Linked DNA regions of Homo sapiens: region 2 is linked to region 1. The links are contacts of gene promoters, found by promoter capture Hi-C in blood cells and fetal thymus (Javierre and others, 2016). All regions are on one chromosome and are shown on one strand. The core of a region is centred on a gene start or on the middle of the fragment in contact, and the rest is flanking DNA. Distances in the headings are between cores, read along the strand shown. Region 1 holds the start of MS4A7 (membrane spanning 4-domains A7). Region 2 overlaps LOC105369321 (a long non-coding RNA gene).

Region 1 (6,522 bases), core at 537-3,036:
TGTCACTTTATCTCTCTCCTCTTTATATATGTTCACAGACATTCACAATTCTACGGAAATAGTCATTCTATCCATGCCATTTTATAACTGTTCTTTTTGTACTCAACATTATTCTGTAGACATCTTTGACCGATGAATAGAAATAATAAAAAGCCTAAATTTAAAAGCAAATGATAGATTCTGATACATGGCACAACATGGATGAACCTTGAAGACAATATGGCAAGTGAAATAATCCAGTCACAAAAGGACAAATATTGTATGATTCTACTTATGTGAGGCACCTAGAAGAGTCAAATTCACTGAAAGTAGAATGGTGGTTGCCAGGGGCTGGCGGGAGAGGGGAATGGAAAGCTATTGTTTAATGGGCACGGAGTTCCAGTTTGGGAAGACAAGAAAGTTCTGGAGTTGGGTGGTGGTGATGGTTGCACAATGGTGTGAATGTGCTTAATGCCACTGAACTGTACACCTAAAAATGGTTAAGGCTGGGTGCAGCGGCTCATGCCTGTAATCCTAGCACTTTGGGAGGCCGAGGCGGGCAGATCACCTGAGGTCAGGAATTCAAGACCAGCGTGGCCAACATGGTGAAACCCCGTCTCTACTAAAAAAATACAAAAATTAGCCAGGCATGATGGTGAGTGCCTGTAATCCCAGCTACTCAGGAGGCTGAGATGGGAGAATCGCTTGAACCTGGAAGACAGTGGTTGCAGTAAGCCGAGATCACGCACTCTAGCCTGGGTGACTGAGCAAAACTCTTTCTCAATTAAAAAACAAACAAACAAACAAACAAAAAACAACAAAAAAACACATGGTTAAAAGGCTACAATTATTTTAAGCATATTTTACTACAACCAAAAAGCCAAATGGTATATTTAAATAAATGGAGGTCTCTAGATTCATTTAATCAATCACATGTTCATGACTATTTAGGTGGTTTCTATTTTTTCTTTTTGCCACTATGAACAATGCAATAATGAACATCTTTGCACTTTTGTGATACCTCCTGCATTTAATTATCTCACAGTGATGTATGGAAGTGGAATTATTACATTTAAATCTATGACACTTGAATTTAGATACACGTTGCTACTTTTAGAAGGAATCCTATATAACCAAGATTCTTTATGTTTCACAAAAGTCTCCAGACTGATGCTATCATCTCCAAACACCACAGTCTGAGAGGATGCTTTGTCCTTCCACATTCGCCTTGAGGAGATAGACTGGAGGGACCCACAGCTTTCAAGACAGCTCTAAAATCCGTGCTTTGAAGATAAATCATGACATGGAGGTCAACAGCTCTGCCCAGCAATTTTCTGTATTACAGAATTAGAGTAGGACCATGGGGTTCTAATGCAAGATTCAGTCTAATTGCACAGTATTTGTTGAGAGTAGACTCTGTAAGACTGAGTGACACACCAGGAGAATGCAGAACATTGAGGAAAATCACCTCAATGAGGGAAACCTAAGAATGGTTTTACCCAATTTTCTTATTTGACAAGTGAGTAAACTGAGACCCAAAAAGGGGACTGAGCTGACGCTCCAACTCACACAGGTGGTCAGAATCAGAGACAGGATGATAATCCAATTCCCTGGCTGTCTTTTCAAAAGCACACAATCTTCCCCAAAAGTCATGATCTAAACCAAGGTGTCTACCTGTTCTCGCAGCCTGGTCCTGTGTGCTGTGGCTGGGGATCAGCTCACCTCTGGGGAGCGCTCAGCTGGAACCTCCCACTGGCTGTTCCTGCCAGAACGATCTTGGTGCTCTGCTCTCCAGCCTCTGAGACTTCCTGTCCCTTTCTTAGAGCAGTATTTATGATTACACAGGATGTGAATTTTGCTGTAGTTACAGACAGTTGATATATAAAAAGTGCCTCTGCTTCCTCTTTCTAAATTCTGAGGTCTGGCAAAATGACACAAGATAGAAGTGACACATGAGAAAAAGACCTTTGTGCAGACTAGTGATTTGTACGGTCCCAGTTAAAATTCATTTTCCCTACTCCTACATAGAATTATTTAAGTCATCTAGTTTTGCTTAGCCTGAGTTTTCTTGTCTATTAAATAAATGGTGGATGGATAATAATAATTCCACTCTGTGGGTGTTGGGAGAATTAAAGAAAAAAGATGCAAAGAGTTTACAAAAAGTAGACAATAAATATTGATAATAGTAATGTTAGTTTTGAATTTTGGAGAATCTATTCTCTCACTTTCCAGGCTCTTGGTAAGCTGAAAGCAACCTGTGGAAAATTCCGTGTCTCCTTGTTACTTCTTTTGGGTGTTTCCATTCTCCATCTTTGGCCTCATGCTCAGGGAAGTCCAGGCACATCTTGGGAAAGATGCCAGTGGATTGGCCTCAGAGGCAGAGTCATCAGGCTCCACACAAGCTCATATTTGGGGAAGTATTTGTTGTTGAGGGGACACTGTTGCCACTTTCACATCCCTTTTAAGGCTTCTTGTAGACTAGCCATTGTTCAGAAGGGTAGGGTTTAAGATGGCTCTGGGACATGCAGCAGCTGGCGGCACAACATGCTCCATATACAGTCTCCATTTCCTGAAGGGTGGCAAGGCTATCCCCTAAGAGAGGAGCAAACCTAAGCCTGGGAGATTTAAATAACTCATAAACTACTTGGAGGGTATTTTAGTCCAGTTCTTCTCCAAATGAGGTGATATTGCTGAAGGAATCTGCCCCCAGTCACATGTCTAGTCTGTGGAAGAGGCAGGAATCTAATTCACATCTCTTGGCACTGAGGTCTGGGCTTGCTTCATGGCAAGAGTCTGCCATTTGGTCAACATCTTTTTTTTTTTTTGAGATGGAGTTTTTTGCTCTTGTTGCTCAGGCTGGAGTGCAATGGTGCAGTCTCAGCTCACTGTAACCTCCACCTCCCAGGTTCAAGTGATTCTCCTGCCTCAGCCTCCCCAGTAGCTGGGACTATGGGTGCCCACCACCATGCCTGTCTAATTTTTGTATTTTTACTAGAGACAGGATTTCACCATGTTGGTCAGGCTGGTCTCGAACTCCTGATCTCAGGTGATCCACCTGCCTTGGCCTCCCAAAGCTGGGATTACAGGTGTGAGCCACTGTGCCCAGCTTAGTCAACATCTTCATATCCACAACAAGCACTGTCTTTGCTTAAGAAAACTTCCAGGATCCAGACCTTCCTCTGGGTCTATGACCTGTTTTGACCAAATTGTTAAAGAACCTTGGTCATTTGGGCTTCTTTCACACTTCTGAGCCTCAGAAGGAATTCGTGAGAAAATCAGTTAAATATCCAGTTCACTTTCTCATAAAATTTGAAAAAAGATTTTTCAGAATTGTTGTGAGGATTAAGTCAAATAACATAAAAGTCCCCACCATAGAGCCTGACATAAATGAACCATTAAGAAAATCTGGTATTTCTTGTCCAACATCTTCTCCCACCCCCTTTAGAGAAAAGTGTATTTTATCTCTAGATTGATCTCTGATCTCTAAGTGTAATCTATGTTTACTCTAAATTCATGCTCTTTTCCATTGATGGAAATCTCCTCAGCCCTTTGCAAACAGTCCTGGTGCTCTAGACAGGCAAGTGACTCACAGTCCTAGTGCCTACTTCAAGGATACGATCTCCCCGCCATCCCCACCCCAAGCAGACCATGAAGCTAGTAAAATGGAAATGCGTCTTATATGTTGGAGGACTCTAACAGCCTTGGACAGACTAACTGTATTTTTTTTCTCTAGCAGTGGAGATGACGGGCTGGGGCTAGGGCACAAGGTCTGGTTATCCAGAGAGAGATTCCTTGGAGCAGTGTTCATAGACCCCCCTGATGTTTGACTTGGTTATTGGCTCCACTCACGGAATTTTCTCCCTGTTTCTTAGAATCTCGTATCACGCCACCGGAATGAAAGTGAAACGATTTTTCCCCCCAACTTCAGCATTTTACAGGTGGGGAAACTAAAGGCCAGGGATTGCTTAGGGAGTTAGTAGTGACTGGGCTGTGGCTGATTCATGCAGTTTCTATGTCTGTATTATTTCAGTGTTTTCTTTATGCCTTTGCAGTTCTTTAATACACAGGTAATGACTCTTTCTAGCAAGTATTCTCTGCTAAAATAACAGAAGGTTTCTGTCTTTTGGCTGATAACCTAAATTACAGAGAGGTTAAGTAACTTACCCTGTCACACACCCTAGAAAGTAATGAAGTCTAGATTTGAATCCAGGTAATCTTAATTCAGGGACTGTGCTCTGTGATCGTTTTTTTTTTTTTTTTTTTTGACGGAGTCTTGCTCTGTTACTCAGGCTGGGGTGCAGTGGCGGGATCTCTGCTCACTGCAAGCTCCGCCTCCCGGGGTCACGCCATCCTCCTGCCTCAGCCTCCCAAGTAGCCGGGACTACAGGCGCCCGCCACAACGCCTGTTTAATTTTTTATATTTTTAGTAGAGACGGGGTTTCACTGTGTTAGCCAGGATGGTCTCGACTCCTGACCTCGTGATCTGCTCGCCTCAGCCTCCCAAAGTGCTGGGATTACAGGCGTGAGCCACTGTGCCTGGCTGGGACTGTGCTCTTAACTGCTATATTATTACTTCCAGGAACTTGCTTTACTGGTCATCTGGACTTGAACAGTAAATCCCCAAACCTGGTGTGAGACCCTACCTTCCAAGTGAAATACAAACAAATGGTTATTTCCTGGTGCTCTTGATATCAGAATTGCTGGGACTCACCATTCAGTGATGATGAATAGGGCAAAAGAATGCAATTATCTCAAATGGGGATGAGGCTGAGCATCTCTAGCTTTGTATAACTGGAGGCTACACATGACAATGGGCATGATGGGATGACTAAGCATGGGGGAGTCTCTTTCTACACCATCCTCAGCAGCTCTGCCAGGTTTCTGCCTCTCTTGGTCTCTGCCTCTGCTGATCTCGCCATGCACACAGCAGGCCTCGCGTAGTACTTCACAGAAAATCTCCTTACTGAAAAGGTGTAGGGCACAACATTCCTTTAAAAAATTCCACATGAAAAATATTCCTCACTTTTCATTGAAATACCACAGTTTGAGTGCTTCTTCTGTGCCAGGCTGTGTTCTAGGTGCTTGGATTGCATCAATGGACAGAACAGAAAAAACCACCTTCCTCTATGGTGTTTTCATTCTCCTAGAATGTTCAAATAGAACAGTGAGGAAGCATACTACATAGTCCTAGTAATAAGCCTAGTAACAAGGTGAATAGACCAATGGAACAGAACTGATGTTAAGAATAGCATTTTACTCAGGATTAAGAAACTGACTCAAAACCACTCAACTACATGGAAACTGAACAACCTGCTCCTGAATGACTACTGCGTACATAAAGAAATGAAGGCAGAAATAAAGATGTTCTTTGAAACCAACGAGAACAAAGACACAACATACCAGAATCTCTGGGACACATTTAAAGCAGTGTGTAGAGGGAAATTTATAGCACTAAATACCCACAAGAGAAAGCAGGAAAGATCTAAAATTGACACCCTAACATCACAATTAAAAGAACTAGAGAAGCAAGAGCAAACACATTCAAAAGCTAGCAGAAGGCAAGAAATAACTAAGATCAGAGCAGAACTGAAGGAGATAGAGACACAAAAAACTCTTCAAAAAATTAATGAATCCAGGAGCTGGTTTTCTGAAAAGATCAACAAAATTGATAGACTGCTAGCAAGACTAATAAAGAAGAAAAGAGAGAAGAATCAAATAGAAGCAATAAAAAATGATAAAGGGAATATCACCACCAATCCCACAGAAATACAAACTACCATCAGAAAATACTATAAACACCTCTACACAAATAAACTAGAAAATCTAGAAGAAATGGATAAATTCCTGGACACATGCACCCTCCCAAGACTAAACCAGGAAGAAGTTGAATCCCTGAATAGACCAATAACAGGCTCTGAAATTGAGGCAATAATTAATAGCCTACCAACCAAATGGCTCTCATGGGGTGAATAAGCTTTAACATATTGAAACGAGGGGAGTTTTCCCTTATCCCCCTTGCAGGGTGCGTGATGGGGGTGTGGCTCACTTCTTTGGTGCCCCGCAGCTCAAACCCCTAAGGGAAGCATGCAGACGGGCAGGTCATGGGGAGCGTGGGCTCCGACTCCATGGCAGCATCTAGGGTTGAGTGTTTACAGCTCCCGAAGCCCAAATGGGTGTATGTTACAATGTGCTCTTTCAGCTTAGCCGTCCGCAGGCACCTTGCTTTAATGAGCTCAGTTAGACCCTCTACCTTATCGCAAGGACAGAGGGCTTTCTGTATCCCAGGGTTCTTGCCCAAGTGTCCCAGAAAAATCAGATCATATGTGGGCTTGGAGAGTGAGTGCAAGGTTTTATTGAGTGGTGATAGTAGTTATCAACAGATGGACAGGGAGCCAGAACGGGGATGGAGTGGGAAGGTGGTCTTCTCTGGAGTAGGGCTGCTCAGCAGCCTGGCTCTCCTCCAACCACCCTCAGCTGAATTTCCTTTGGTATCTGCTTTGTTCTGCCATCGATGGTCTGCCAGCAACTGTTGGTGTGTTCTTC
Region 2 (6,260 bases), core at 1,958-4,457, 230 kb before region 1:
AATGTGCGGGGTGCATGGCACAGACTTTAGGCAGCATTTAAAATCAACTGATAGAGGTACTGATAGCCACACGGATAGATCTTTAAAACTTACTGTTAGGAGGAGCAAAGTTTGTGCATGTAATTTATGGGTGTGTATGAACTTCATGGATTCCAGATACATTCCTACAATAGAATGCCATACATTTTTGGGGAGATACTGACAAATAAAATATGCATGTTTTATAAAGTGGAACAATTGCTCATGGAGGGAGGGAAGGGGGAGTGGGGTATGGAGATCAAAGAAAATTTAAAAAATAGGAAGCATCCTTATAGACACAACAAAACATTTCTAAGATAATTTGCTTAAAATTTGAGTGTGATAAGCCACAGTGTAAAATTATAGGCAAAAATATGTAACGTTTTGGGAGCTGGACTTTCTAGACAAACTAAATCCAGTAGCTATTAATTCATGTAGTCTCAATAACATAAAGATATGGCTAATTGTAATATACCTTCTTCACTGTAGGTAAGCTATGCATGTTTTAATAATATCCAGTGAGAAAGAAATAATTAGTAGTATTTAGAGCTAATAAGCAAAGAAGCCTTCACAAGCAATGGGATTATTTATCATTTATGCGAAGTCTCCTTCTCACAATGAAATAATTTTCTCGAGTTAGCATTTATTACATCATTATCAATTTTAGGTATAGATTCTACTCTAGTAACATGTGCCCATTCATAGAACTTCTCTTGTATGGAAGAATCCCTTAACTCAGGCTGACCATATTCAAACTGAGATAAATTCATGCACAGTTCCTCATGTAGACAAAAATAACCATATTCATCAATTTTAATTTTTATTAATGAAATAGGGGGAAGAGAATACTGAGATGGATTTAATGAAATTACATTTTCCAAGAAGCCTCTTGAACAGAATGAAGTTCTTCATTTGCCACTAAACTTTCCTCCTTGACTGAGCTCACTGATGGTTTCTTTAATATGCAGAGAAAGGATCTCCTTCTGCCATGAACCTGAGGTAAGTTAGATATCAGTAAATTGATCATTAGCACACTCTAAAATAAAGAACTATAGAATTTGGGTTAGAATTTTGGAAATAATTCTAATAGAAGTATTCTCCTCATTGAGATTTTTATTTTATTTATTTTTTTAGAGATGAGGTCTCTGTCACCCAGCCTGGAATGCAGTGGCACTATCATTGCTCACTGTAACTCTGAATTCCTGGGCACAAGCCCTCCTTCCACCTTCCCCTCCTAAGTAGCTAAGGACTGCAGGGATGTGCCACCACTCCTGGGTAATTTTTTCAACTTTATGCATTTTATTTTATTTTATTTTACTTTACTTTACTATTTTATTTTATTTTATTTTATTTTATTTTATTTTATTTTATTTTATTTTATTTTATATTTTTGTAGAGATGGGGTCTCATTGTGTTCCCCAGGCTGGTCTCAAAATCCTGAGCTCAAGCAATTCCCCTGCTTTAGCCTCTCAAAGTGCTGGAATTATGGGTGTGAACCACCCCACCAGGCGAGATTTTTAAATTAAACCATGTGCTTTTGATACTTTTTAGTTTTTTTCTTTGTCCTCTCTCCCTTTCTCCCTGGTTTCCATCCTCCCTTCTTTTTTGTTTCTATAGATTGAAAGCCAAAGACAATGCTATATGAAAAGACAGTCCCCAAGACAATGATTGATCATAAAGGGCATATTGTTTTCTACTCAAACTTGATTACATTATTAAGTATAGCATTGAATAGCTGTCAGTTTAAATTCTATTTAGTTGGAGTAGAAATCTATATGTTCTTATATACCCAATCCATGTTTGTTCTCTTTTCACTTTATTCAGAGAAGAATTAAGAATAAGACCTCTGTGAGTGTGTGTGTGTGTGTGTGTGTGTGTGTGTGTGTGTGTTTGGTGTGTTTTGTTTACTTTGCTTTTAGTTAGAGCCATATTTTTTTGAGATTTCGAGTTTGAATACCTTTAGATGGAACTTCAGCTCCCCATTTTAATACCTTACTTAAAGAAGATTCATTGAAAGGCAATCAGTGATCCAGATAACAGGTTTTCAATACCCTAATTCATCTGGAATTATAGCTAATTCACATGTTTTGAAAAGCAAGTGACTTTTGCAGTACAAATGAAGATGTAGCCTCTGAGTGTCAAGAGAAAGTGGGAAATACAAGAAAAGAAATCTATATGATAAATTCCTCTCCCTCCTAATTCATTTTATCAGTTTAATTCAAAATAGAGATTCCTAAACAAAGCTATTTACAAATTAAGATGGTAAACTTAACAAGGCATATTTATGGAATGATAAGTAAATTGGTGAGGCTGGAGCACAGCATTTATGGGCGTGAGTGGTAGGAAATGAAGTCAAGAAAGTAGATTGGGCTAAATTATTACAGAAATGAATGTTGTGCTAGAATATCAGGCTTTCGTGTGGTAAGTGTTTCCTGTTTAAACTTTCATTTGGGGAGATGAAGAAACAGAGGACAGAATTGAAATACATTTAGGGGATCATGTAAAAAGGATTGTCAAATTGTTTCAATTTGAGAGTATTTCTCAGCTCCCTCGCCAGGGCAGGCAGGTAGATAGATGGTGGTGCTCTTAAATGGAAAAGACAAGGTAATGACTTTGTGGGTGAGATGATTAGTTCAGTTTTAGATATGTTTTATTTGAGGTGCTTTGGAATCCTTCGAATCAAACTCTCTAGAGAGAAGTTGGCAATATGAGCCTAGAGCTCAGTAGAAAGGTCTAGGGTGGAGATTTAACATTTGGATTATTATAAATTTATAGATGGTATACATCTACCAAGCTGTAGGTATATATGGTGTTGCCTATACAAAAACTATAGAGGTACAGTTGGAAAAGTCAAGGGACAGAACAGCAACCTGAAGAGATTAAGTAAGACCCAGGTAAGAAGGCAGGTCAAAGGGTCAAACAGATGAGATTAGAAAGTGGTAAAATGGGGAGGAAGCTTAAATTTCCTAAACCTTTCTACACATGTGGTCTAGGATATATGGACAACTCACTTTCTTCTTTGTGTTAACTGTGGTCTCCTTCTCAGTTGTTTTTATGATCTCATAGATCTCTAAGCCTCGGCCTGTTGAGTGGGTACTGGGGAAAAAGGGCAGGCATATCTTTCACTGAAGTTCTCTGATTTAGTGAGATTGAAGTTCTCTGATTTAGTGAGGTCAAATGGAGGTTAAGTTTTCCTTTAGACGTGAAGTAGTTGATATGGAGAAAGTAGGAAAATAGCTTTATTGAAAAAAGGCTTTACCATCTTTTTCAACTTCTCCATTACTCCCAAATCTTGGTTTCTGAAGACACTAAAGTTCTACACTTAGATATTCAACTTGTTCTCCCAAATTTTGAGAAATAAAGGCTTCAGTCTTCAGTAGTCCCATATCCCCGTGCCTGGTAACAACTTCTACAAAGCTTTTTGTTTCCAGGGTAATGTCTGTAGAATTAAACAGACCTGAGCCAGAAAATCACATATCTTCTACCTTATTCTCTCATATGTTATGGACATAAAAGCATCCTGTAATGCAAAACACCTTTATAAAAGGGAAAATTATTTATTCAGTTGTGGAGGGACCCATATAAGTGCATGACAGTTAGTGCCGAGTGTTTTCAGCTATCTACAATCACAGCTTAGTGATGGCATTATTTATACTTAATTCATATCAAAACCTTAGTTATTCAAATAGTGTTCATAACAGAAGACAACATCTTCTGATCTACTAAGGGAAAAATGGGATACTCACTGCATCTTTATCTTCTTCTCTTTTTTGCTTAGGATGCCCAGTGGCTGACTATACTTGCCACAAACAACTCCAAGATGGTTAATATGAACAGATATTCCGAAAGGAGTTTGCCACTTTTCTGTATCCACAAAGAAAATGTACATTCCTTACAGATCTTTCTATGTGAGCACTTTAGAAATAATAAAGGTATCTTAAAATTGAAGAAGAAAAATAGAAGAGAAAAACTACCCACCCTATCCTCCACCCTCAACAATAGAATTTTAAATATTTTTTAATTGTAATTACAATGGATAATTATTGAGGATGATGATATACTGATATATTTCTGCCAAATGTATGATGAGAATCATTGATTGTGTTTTCCTGTTTATTGTTGTGGATAATAACAGGAAATTTTCATTGAGTCCAATAAATCTCTGGGGAAGATGGAATTGTGACACCCTTGAGGTTTAGTGTTATAGAACTTATTTAATAGAGAAACTTACATAAATTTGCCCTGTTGATAGGAAAGGACACTAAAGAGAAACAATGAAAGAAAAGAATGTTTGGACTTGTAACCTGGACTCAACACAAGGGCTGATGTGACCTGGGGGTAGGAATTTCCTCCTGGGATTGTGCCTCTGTCTATAAGCTCCAATAGACCCATATCCTGACAGTATAGCTGGGTTAGAGACAAGAATACAGAATCCGTAATATTGGAAGCCCAAGCCTCTTCAGTACTCAGTGCACTTTTATGACAAGGTCACCATGGGCTACTCAAATCAGTGTTAAATAATGGCGTCATTTAATAGTAACTGAACCATAGCAGTGGAAATTAAGGGCACACTGGTGGACTGATGAGGTACTACATGACTCTGTTAACTAAGGGCTTGGAGTCAATATCGAACCTTTGGATCCCAGTGGTTTTGAGTAACTTGAGAGGGTCAACAGGGAGGGGCCCTCAGAAGGAAGATTCTGGATTTCCTACTAATATGAATATGATAGTTTAAGAGATAAATTAGAAAAATGAAAGAGTTAAGATCATAATTAAAGATCAATCCAATAAAATGAGCCATTCTTGTTATACAAATATAATCTTAAGCAATATCTTTATGTTTCTATTTATTTAAGATACCACTTTAAGGTATCCATCAGGGTATGTGTCATAAAATATTAGCATTCTCCGCAGCAGCAAAATGATTCTTTGATGTGCCACTGAATTGATTTTTGTAAAAGCTCCATTTTGTGGGGTAAGATAATTTAGAATTTAAAACCATTCTGCATTAGAAAAAATGATCTGTAAGTGACTAGCCACGTGACTCTGAGCAAGTAGTTTAAAATTTCTAAACTCATTTCTTTATTGAATCAGAGACATAAATCGTTCCTAAGGAGGTTTACCATTGCACTCACTGTAAAATCACTTTCAAAGCTACATAGAAATAAGAAAAATCCAATAAAATGCAAACTGGTGTATTCTTTGCAACTAGATAATTAACCAAGAGTTTTGGATGTTGAAGTAAGGAGAGTTTACTTAATTAGTTAGGAATTTAAATACAGGCAATATCCAATGGGTTCAATTCAGAAAAGTTGATTTCTAAGTATTGGTAAAAGTTCCCACTATTTTGCCCTTCATCAAGCCCTGGGCAGATGGGATAGAGCAGAAGGACCGAAATCCTAGAGAAGACTTTGGCCCTTATCGCTTCAATTTCTGCACAACTTGCTTAGCACTGACTTCTGCCTTCTTGCCCTCCTAGCCCCTTCTCTCTACACCAACAAATGTATACAGATAAATGCACATATGTCCACAGTTCCACATGAATGGGAACATAGATATACACAGATATTGAAATGCAAATGTGAACACAGTTAGACTCCCACAGACCTGCTGAACAACTGACAGACTCAAAGCAGGCAGTGCAAAAATGTCCACATAGTCATGAACGATATAGAACTGAGTACGTGCATTCAAAATTACATACATGTACAGAGTTCAGCTTTATTCTGTCTGTAAACTACAGCCCTGACATTGAACATAAGCCCTTGGGTATCACAGGTACATGAGTATGCCAGTTCCTTCTTGGAAGACCAAGTCTTGCTATAACAAACTTGATCTTTTAAGGCCTGGGAGAACTGACCTCAGAGATGCAGGTACCTGGAATGAACTGAGCTGCCCATCGTAAAAATATCATGGCTATCAGGTGGGTCCAGAATTGAATATAATGCTTAGTTACTCAAAATGCATCTATTAATATGTATAATACCTTTCATTTGTTTACTTGAGGTTTTGGTTGGTCTTAGGTTTAGAAATATAACTTGTAGTTTGATTCACATTTTTAATATATGCATATACCATGAGGTAAACTAATGGTGAGGGTCACCTCCATGACTTGCATTGTACTTAAGTAGTCTGACCACTTAGGAAATATTTAACACATAATTCTAAAATTGTGATGAGATTCTCACAGAAACCTGGTACATACATGTGGCCAAAGAGAATTTTTTGAACTTTTACTATAT

The links. The method cuts DNA at HindIII sites, captures the fragments that hold promoters and counts their contacts. A CHiCAGO score of 5 or more calls a contact.
Region 2: a fragment that was not itself captured here is called in contact with the fragment with the promoter of MS4A7 in region 1 in 1 of 17 cell types (naive B cells); the score reaches 5.9 in naive B cells.

Annotation. Positions count from the first base shown.
Region 1 is chr11:60,373,796-60,380,317 of GRCh38, reverse strand. It overlaps MS4A7 (membrane spanning 4-domains A7), which reads right to left and starts at 1,786. Exons shown (of 7, transcript NM_021201.5): 1 at 1,654-1,786. RefSeq lists enhancers at 1,785-1,834, 2,515-2,754. The HindIII fragment of the contact is 12,513 bases long and covers 1-5,955 here.
Region 2 is chr11:60,606,001-60,612,260 of GRCh38, reverse strand. LOC105369321 (a long non-coding RNA gene) reads left to right here. Exons shown (of 6, transcript XR_001748240.2): 5 at 854-1,017; 6 at 3,797-3,966. It also overlaps the pseudogene MS4A19P. Among named protein-coding and RNA genes, the nearest start is that of LINC00301, 6.6 kb to the left of the region's middle. The HindIII fragment of the contact is 461 bases long and covers 2,977-3,437 here.